2 separate regions of the Homo sapiens genome follow, and region 2 is linked to region 1. The links are contacts of gene promoters, found by promoter capture Hi-C in human tissues and cell types (Jung and others, 2019). All regions are on one chromosome and are shown on one strand. Each heading gives the region's core, a stretch centred on a gene start or on the middle of the fragment in contact. The rest is flanking DNA. Distances are from core to core; before and after follow the strand shown.

Region 1 (4,074 bases), core at 490-2,989:
GGGAAGTGGAAGTGGTGAGAGCACAGTAGGAAGTGAGAAGGGGCGGGCCGTGCTTACCAGGCCGTGGACTTAAACCAGGATGAGAGAACCCCTGGAGGCGTTTAAGTTGGCAGACTTGGATTTCAGGAAGAGCTCTCTGGCTTCTGGGTGGAGAATGGCCAGTGGGGTAAGTGGTGAGAGGAAAGACAGAGAACGGAGAAGGTTAGATGGGCTTGGGAAATTATCCAGGCCCTGGATGGAGGTAGAGATGTGTGCTCATGAACACGGAGGGGATTACTGATGTGGGGTGGATGAGACTGTCGTCAAGAGTGTGGGACAGGAAGAGAGGGAGAGTCTTGGCCAGATCCAAGAAAGGAGCCCTCAGAAGAGGAGGGGAGTCAGAGGCAAGGAAGGGGCTGAGGCAGCCAGCCCAGCTGAGTGGACCCCAGGAGAGGTATCAAGGGGTGGTGTGGGGTGGGGAGGGGCCAGTGTCAGAAAGTGGATGGGGAGCGGCCTGACTCTGCTTTTGTCCTGTGGCCTTCTGGCCAAAGGCAGGGAAAGGTGGCCAAACACTGAGACCAAGAACAAAGAAAGAAAACTGCTGGTGGACTTCTTCCACCATGAGCAGGCCACCAAGCCCGCAGCACTGCACTGCAGCCCCCAGCTCTGTCCTGGGGTTGGGGGAGGTGAGGAGGGGCAAGGTGGGGAGCACACAGAGCACCCGCTGTCCTCGGAACACCACAGCGACTAGAGGTAAGGGAGCACCGGATGTGGCTGGGATGTGGGCAGCAAGGGGCCAGAGGGGCCTTGAAGGGGTCACAGACCATTTAATGAAGGTGTATTGAAGGCCACCATGGGCCAGGCCCTAGTTAGGGATGGATCAGAATTATATAGCATATGCCAGGGGTCAGGCAGGTAATGAAGTGATCGGAAGGTGATGAGGCAGTGGCAGTTGAGATTCACGTTGCAGTCGCCCCAAGCTGGCCAGGCCAGGGAGCAGAAGCATGGCTGGATGCCGGAGCCCACCAGGCTCCCCACTGCAGGGCAAGAGTGGCAGGGGGAGAGACTGTGAAAGGAGCATAGGCCAGGTCCTGGGTGAAAGCTGTGTCCTCAGCCTTGACTGATGGGTATAGGGAGCCACTAAATGCCTTGGGGCAGAGAGGTGAGGAAAAAAATATTTACCGAGCATCTACAAGGTGCAAGGTACTCACTAGATGCCTTCAGTACCAAAGCTTCTCAAACTTAGTATGCATATCACTCTTCTAAGAATTTCATTAAAATGCAGATTCTAATTCAGCAGATATAGGGCAGGGCTTGAGGTGCTGTCTTTAATAAGCTCCCAGTGCCTGGGACTGCACTTTGAGGAGAAGAGCTGTGTGTGCCCCAGTGTGGTCCAGTGAGTACTCTGGGCTCCCTCTCGTGGGCAGGGAAGCTGAGGGCCCCATGAGCTCTCCCAGCTTCCTGAAGGCTCCCCATTAATGAGAGCTGACTGTGCTGTGCTTTGCTGACTGCAGGGCCTGCTCCCTGCCCCCCACCTCCAGGTTGGGGTAAGTGGCACCTCTCTCCCTCCAGCTCCGCAGTCTTCCCTGAGGTTTAGATCTTCCAGGTTTATAAAGTCAGGCCCTCCTGTTGGCAGCTGGCCTCCACCCTGGAGTATCTGAGCTTGCCTGTGGCAGCATCTAAAGATAGTCTCCCTTACAGGAAACAAGATACTATTGGCTAACTCTGCAAATAAAATGCTCTTAGAGGGAAGGAAAGGGAAATACTCGTCTCTGGTAAAGTCTGAGCAGGACAGGGTGGCTGACTGGCAGATCCAGAGGTTCCCTTGGCAGTCCACGCCAGGTAGGTGCACAGGACTAGTTGGGTACCTGTGGGTGGGGTGGAGCAGTGGACAGCTAATAGGTTAATAATGCCTGTTTGCTTACGTGCAGACAATGGAAACCATTTTCCTGGGGATGTTGTAGCCTAAATATGTCCAAGGGGATGGAAGAGTGGGAGGCAAGGGGTGATCAGATCATTTATAATACACTCAACCTGGTGGAATAGTATTAGAAGCATTAGTAATTACATTTTAGAGACATGGAGAAAAGCTCATGATTTTAAACTAACTGAAAAAAGCATGAAAAATTGCATCTGGATGCTGTTGAGGAATTATTGCTAATTTTTTGAGATGAGAAATTGTATTAAAGTCTTTTTCAAAAAAGAGTCCTTAACTTTTAGAGATGCACACAAGTGTTTATGGGTGAAATTAAATAATTCAGTAGAGACATTAAGTGGGAAATAGAGGAAATATTGACCATGGGTTGCTAATAGTTGAAGCCAGGTGTTGGGTATAAGGAGGTTCTCGCTGCTTTTATTTGAAAAGTTGCTTTTTATTTGAAAATTTAATAATAAAGAGTTTTTAAATTTGTATCTGTATTTTAATATAAATATAAATGCACTTAATATAAATATAAAATATGTATAACATTTAGATAGAGAAAAGCTAAAAGATTACTGTGGTTGATTCTAGGAAACTGCATTGCAGATAGTTTCATGGGTTTTTTTTTCCTTTTTCTTCCACTTTTTGTACCATCTATGGGTTTTTGTTTGTTTTTTGTTTTTTGGGTTTTCTTTCTTGTTTGTGTTTTGTTTTTTGAGACGGAGTTTTGCTCTTGTTGCCTAAGCTGGAGTGCAATGGCACAGTCTCGGCTCACTGCAACCTCTGCCTCCTGGGTTCAAGTGATTCTCCTGCCTCAGCCTCCCAAGTAGCTGGGATTATAGGCATGTACCACCGCCCGGCTAATTTTGTATTTTTAGTAGAGGCGGGGTTTCTCCATTAATAAATTCCTGGCACAAATTTAGTGTTCAATTTTGATATATGTTGTTATAACCATTGTGAGGATACTCAGGCTCAGGTTTGTGTGGGTGGAAAACATGGTCTTCAGAAAGAAATTATGAGTGCAAGACAGGAGGAAATCCATCAGAGGCCCCAGCTGAGGACTGACCACGGCTTGTTATTTCTCTTGCCTTGCCTCTGGCAATCACAGCCTCACAGAGCCTGCAATCCTTGCTTTGTGAGTTTATAGCTCAGTCCAGAGAATGGCTAAGAAAGTTTAGGATTCTTTCAACACCCACTCCACAAAAAAAAAAAAAAAAAAGAAAAGAAAAAAAAATTAATTTTTGAAATACTTGAGGTAGAAAACTTGAGGCAGAAAAAAATTGAGCCAAAAAAAAAGGAAAATTGAACCACGTGAAAGCAGGCAAGAAAGCTTGCATTGCTCAGGGCATCCCAGGCCCAGAGGGCGCTTTGGAGGGAGCTGGGTTTCCTGAGAGGAGGCAGGGTGGGTGACGGACCTGTGCTGGAGAGCCTTGAGGACCACTGTGGGTTGGGAATGGGGGCAGTGGATTGGGGTTCAAAACCCCTGGGAATGAGAAATGGGCTCAGGAAGGCTAGGGTGGATTCTTTCATCTTCCTCTTTGCTTGGCTTTATTTTCACAAAGGAAGGCAGGGCAGGAAATAGTCTCAGCCCAACTTCAGTGTGGTTCTTCTTAGTGCTCAGGCTTACCTGGCACTTGCCACACCTCTGGGATGGGAGCACCTACTATCCATCAGCCACGTGCCAGTCTCCACAAAGTCTGCTCCTGAACCCTGCTCCTCAGCTGGCCCCACTTCACAGATGGGGACATAGGCAGCTTGGCTTTGGAATGAAGGAATGAAGTCAGGAATGAAGTCCTGGCTCTGCACTTGGTGACTGTGCACTGGGCTTGCTAAGTCTGTTTCCTGCTTTTAAAATGGAGATTGTCCATCAGCCTTTGAAGCCATGTAATGGGTATGTGTCAACTTTCTGCAAGGATTAAAGGCATGGTATAGGAAGTCCCAAACACACTGCCTGACCCATCTTTGATGCTCAAGAAACGATATATGTTGTTGTCATGAGGAAACTGAGCCTCAGAAAGTTTGGATACCTGAAAAACACTGACTACTATTGAATGAGGTTGTGAAGAATCCAGAGCTGTAGGGGCAGGAAAGCAAAGAACGTATTAGAGCTGACCCAGTCAGGACGATCGTCTATCCCCTTCCTCACCCCACCCCATCCCAGGAGGAAGCCTGCC
Region 2 (4,074 bases), core at 1,027-3,526, 200 kb after region 1:
GAGGCCTATGTCATTTAGCAACAGTAAACGGTACACCTTTCCTTCACTGCCATCTAGCAACCTGCCACTCTCCCTCATTTACTGGAGACTTGAGCCCTGGGGTCACTGTCTTGCAGTCCATCTCAACTAAATCTCTCTTCTACCTCTGACCTTGCCACCTTCCCCATTATCCTCAGCACATGACTCTGATTCCTTTTTCTCAAAACAAAGAGAAGCCTTGACAGAATCCCCTTAACTTTCTCTATCATTCTCCCTGGTGCAAGGAAAACGGTGTCCCTTCTGACTGTGCTCCGGTCCCCCTCACCTCTTGCTTCTTGGGATGACCTTGTATTGTCATCTACCCATGAATGTCTCTACTGGCTTCTTCCCAGGAGCAATGAAATATGCTCAAATTTCTTACATCTGAAAAATACCCAAATATCCAAACAAAACCAAACAAAATCAAAAGCTTCCTTTGGCCCTCTGACTCCTACATCTTCTCTAGTTTCCGCCGCTTCCTGCCTACCCCTCCAATCAAATTTCTTCAAAGATTATCCAGTCAAATTTTCTGTTTCTTCACCTTCAAATCACTACTCAACTCACTCTACCTGGCTTTTGCCCTTAAGACTCTACCCAGAGGCCACCCTCTTTATTTAAATCCATGATGTTAGTCACATCTTAAATCAACTCACAGCAGGTTAATGCCACTAACCGCAAGCTTCTTCTTGAAACACTCAATTAGTTCTGGAGCTGCCACTGGCTCTTCATTTTCTTACTCCCCCGCAACTTTTTAAAATCATATACTATTGTGGCTTCCTCTTTTCCCAACATCCCTGAAAGACTGATGACTTAGTTTCTTCTCAGTCTACATATGTCCCTTGGAAACTCTGACATTTCCTATGACATCAAACTGTAACCCACAAGCTGATGACTGCTGAGCCTTTTTCTCCAGCCCAGTTCTTTAACTGTGCATGAGACTGTACAGCTGTCTGCCCACCAAACACCTCTATTCAGATATCCCACAGAAACTCAAATTCAACATCTTTCTCAGCATGTCCTTTTCTCCTGATAACCTGTTTTTCATCTTACATTCCCTACATCACTTCCATTCACCAAACTGGACAATCAAGAAATCTGGGACTCATTCTTGCTTTTTCCTTTCCTCATACTCCTTTCATTAAAGTATCACTCCTGTGGGCAGGCACGGTTGCTCATGCCTGTAATCTCAGCACTGTGGGAGGCCAAGACGGGCAGATCATGAGGCCAGGAGATCGAGACCATCCTGGCCAACAAGGAGAAACGCTGTCTCTACTAAAAATACAAAAATTAGCCCGATGTGGTGGTGCATGCCTGTAATCCCAGCTACTCGGGAGGCTGAGGCAGGAGAATCGCTTGAACCAGGGAGTCAGAGGTTGCAGTGAGCTGAGGTTGCGCCACTGCACTCCAGCCGGGGCAACAGAATGAGACTCCGTATCAAAAAAAAAAGAAAAAAAAAAGTATCACTCTTGTTCACAGGCCTAAATATTTTCCTAATCATTCGATTTTTTCCATCCCCCTTGTTCCCACCCTAGTCTAGACAAATATCACCTTTCACCTGTATTAGTGCAACAGCCTCCTATTATGTACCAGACACTGTGCTTCTCAACATCACCAATAATAGGCACCCCCGACATTTTAGGAATGAAGAAACCATTTTAGAGATGTTCCCTAGCATATTCCGTAGATCACTTGGCGAGTATTTGGCACAGCCAAGGTTAGAATGCAGCTCTGTCCAACTCCCAAGCCAATGTTCCTAAAAAACTCCTGACTGTCCCACACTGTTTAGCCACGTCTATTACACCAGATCATTTGATATCAAAACTTCAAGGTCTAGATATGGGAAGCTGCTAGGTACACAGAAATGCCAATCATGATGTATGCTGGCCCCATCTAAGTAGAAGTACCTCCCATTCAGACAGCAGGATTCTACTCAGGCCTCAGTTAACCAGACCAAGAGTGGGCAACAGACCCATATACAGAAAACAGATAGGTCAACTCTCAAAGAGGAGCTGGCCTGATCAGATTCTCTTGGGTATTCTGGAGACAATTAGGTCCTGGGCAGCATGAGGCGAAGTCCAGCCACAGGACAGAGTTAGGGACACATTTGTGGTAGAGTATCAAAGTGAAGAATCAATAATTTCTGCTGATGAGTTTCTTAGGGCTGTTCTGGATCCTGCCAGTCCCCAAGAGAACCCTCTCTGAAATCAATGTGTTTCTACCCCCACCCCCAACAGGCATCTCTCTATTGTAGAGAAAAACTAATCAGATTTTTGAAGCTTGCCGCAACTAAACTTTCTACTCAAAGAACTAAAGCCTCTCATTCTGAAGCAATGCTCACCAAACAACTGTTTCATAATGGACTTCCCACATAGATGTCCCACAGGGAGCAAAAATGGTAGTCAAGCCAAGGTTTCTGTTCAGTGACAGTCCCTTTTTCCTAGCAAGAAACTTGCCTGTCTTATTCTTTAGTTCATTAAGTGAATCTCTTTTCTTTATAACCAGGAGCTTAACCAAAATACCAGCTGTTTTCAATTCTTCCTTTATAATAAGCTCAACACCTGTCTCGTCCTTTATTTTTATTTATTTATTTAACCTTTCCTATGGTGCTCATGTCTCTTCCTTTAGATCTCCAATCATGACGTCTTCCAGCTTTCAGTTTCCCATTACATACACTAACAACTACTGCCCTCAACATGAGATTTTCCTGCTCTAAAATTATCTAAGGTTCTTCTAGGAGTACAAAAGAAAGGCCAACTTTGGGTCCTGCAGCTTAAGGCTCTTTGGGAAATGACCTAAATGTCATTTTTCAATCTTACACCCCTGTTACTTCCTTATATTTACTCTGGTCTCCAAATAAACAAAACTGCTCACCTTGCCCCAAATAAGCACATACCATCCTTTTCCTGTGCCTCTGCCATTCATTTCCTTTTCCTGAAATGCTCTTCCTTCTACTCCCATTATGCATCTACTGGAAACCTTTAAGTCCTTGTTCAAATGATTTCTCCACCACGAAGCTCTCCTGACTTCCCTCATCCATAAGCTATCCTGAAATCTGTTCCTTCTTTATCTATAAGGTTTTCCCATTCCACTTGTCCCTCCTACCAAAGGGGATCAAGGTAAAGACTTTTTCATCATTTATGACCCTCAAGCATGGTTCTTTGCACATGACAGTCATTCCATCTAGGAAATATCTGTTGAACAAATGAACAAGTATACCAACAACACTAAGAGAGAGACTTGTGAGAATGATAAAAGCAGACTAACTTTTTAATCTGCCTACAAATGCTTCACTGCTATTTGGAATGTGATTGAATAGCTTCATGCATTTCAACTGTCCCAGAAGGAGTTATTGTAACATGACCCAGAGTTGTAACTAATGCTCATAGTGATGTCTATAAATCCTAAGAAACAGCCAACCTTATTGTGTGCACTCCAGTGTGTCTCATCTAGGGTGATTTTACACCATTCTTCCTCCCTCCAAACATCTGGCAACATGTGGAGACACTTGTGGTTGCCACACCTAGGGGGAGGGAGGGGTATTACTGGCAACTACTGGGTGGAGGCTAGAGATGTTCTAAACATCCTACAATGCATGGAATAGCCCCCTACCTGCCCCCTCCTCCACCTCCAAATAATTATCTGGCTTAAGATGTCAATAGCTACAAGGATGAGACTTTTAAGGTAAGGCAGCATATAAGATTGTCTGCAATACACTAACCAGAGAAAATGATTCCATTTAAACAGTTTATTTACTTAAAAAGATGAATTATGATCTTATCTAATATTCATATAAGAAAGTATATACCACCCCATAAAGTATTACTGCAATTACATCTTAATTTATATTATCTTATCACATACAAAAAATAAAAAATAAAGGGGGTATACAATCTAACAACCTATATTTAGCCCAAAAAAAATACTCACCTTCAATACATCCCAATATGCCACATTATTATTGGTATCTTTGGTTAATATATGTCTCTTATCATTAAGAATGTGGCACTGAATAATACTAGCACCCCCTAATGGGAAAAAAAAACACAATTGGTAAAA

Evidence for each region. Contacts are between HindIII fragments. The study calls those that stand out against the background at their distance.
Region 2: a fragment that was not itself captured here is called in contact with the fragment with the promoter of CX3CR1 in region 1 in 1 of the 25 tissues and cell types used here (adrenal gland).

What each region holds. Positions count from the first base shown.
Region 1 is chr3:39,277,701-39,281,774 of GRCh38, reverse strand. It overlaps CX3CR1 (C-X3-C motif chemokine receptor 1), which reads left to right and starts at 1,739. Exons shown (of 2, transcript NM_001337.4): 1 at 1,739-1,821. The HindIII fragment of the contact is 7,786 bases long and covers 1-2,221 here.
Region 2 is chr3:39,079,680-39,083,753 of GRCh38, reverse strand. It overlaps WDR48 (WD repeat domain 48), which reads right to left. Exons shown (of 19, transcript NM_020839.4): 11 at 3,946-4,043. Among named protein-coding and RNA genes, the nearest start is that of GORASP1, 26 kb to the left of the region's middle. The HindIII fragment of the contact is 3,405 bases long and covers 574-3,978 here.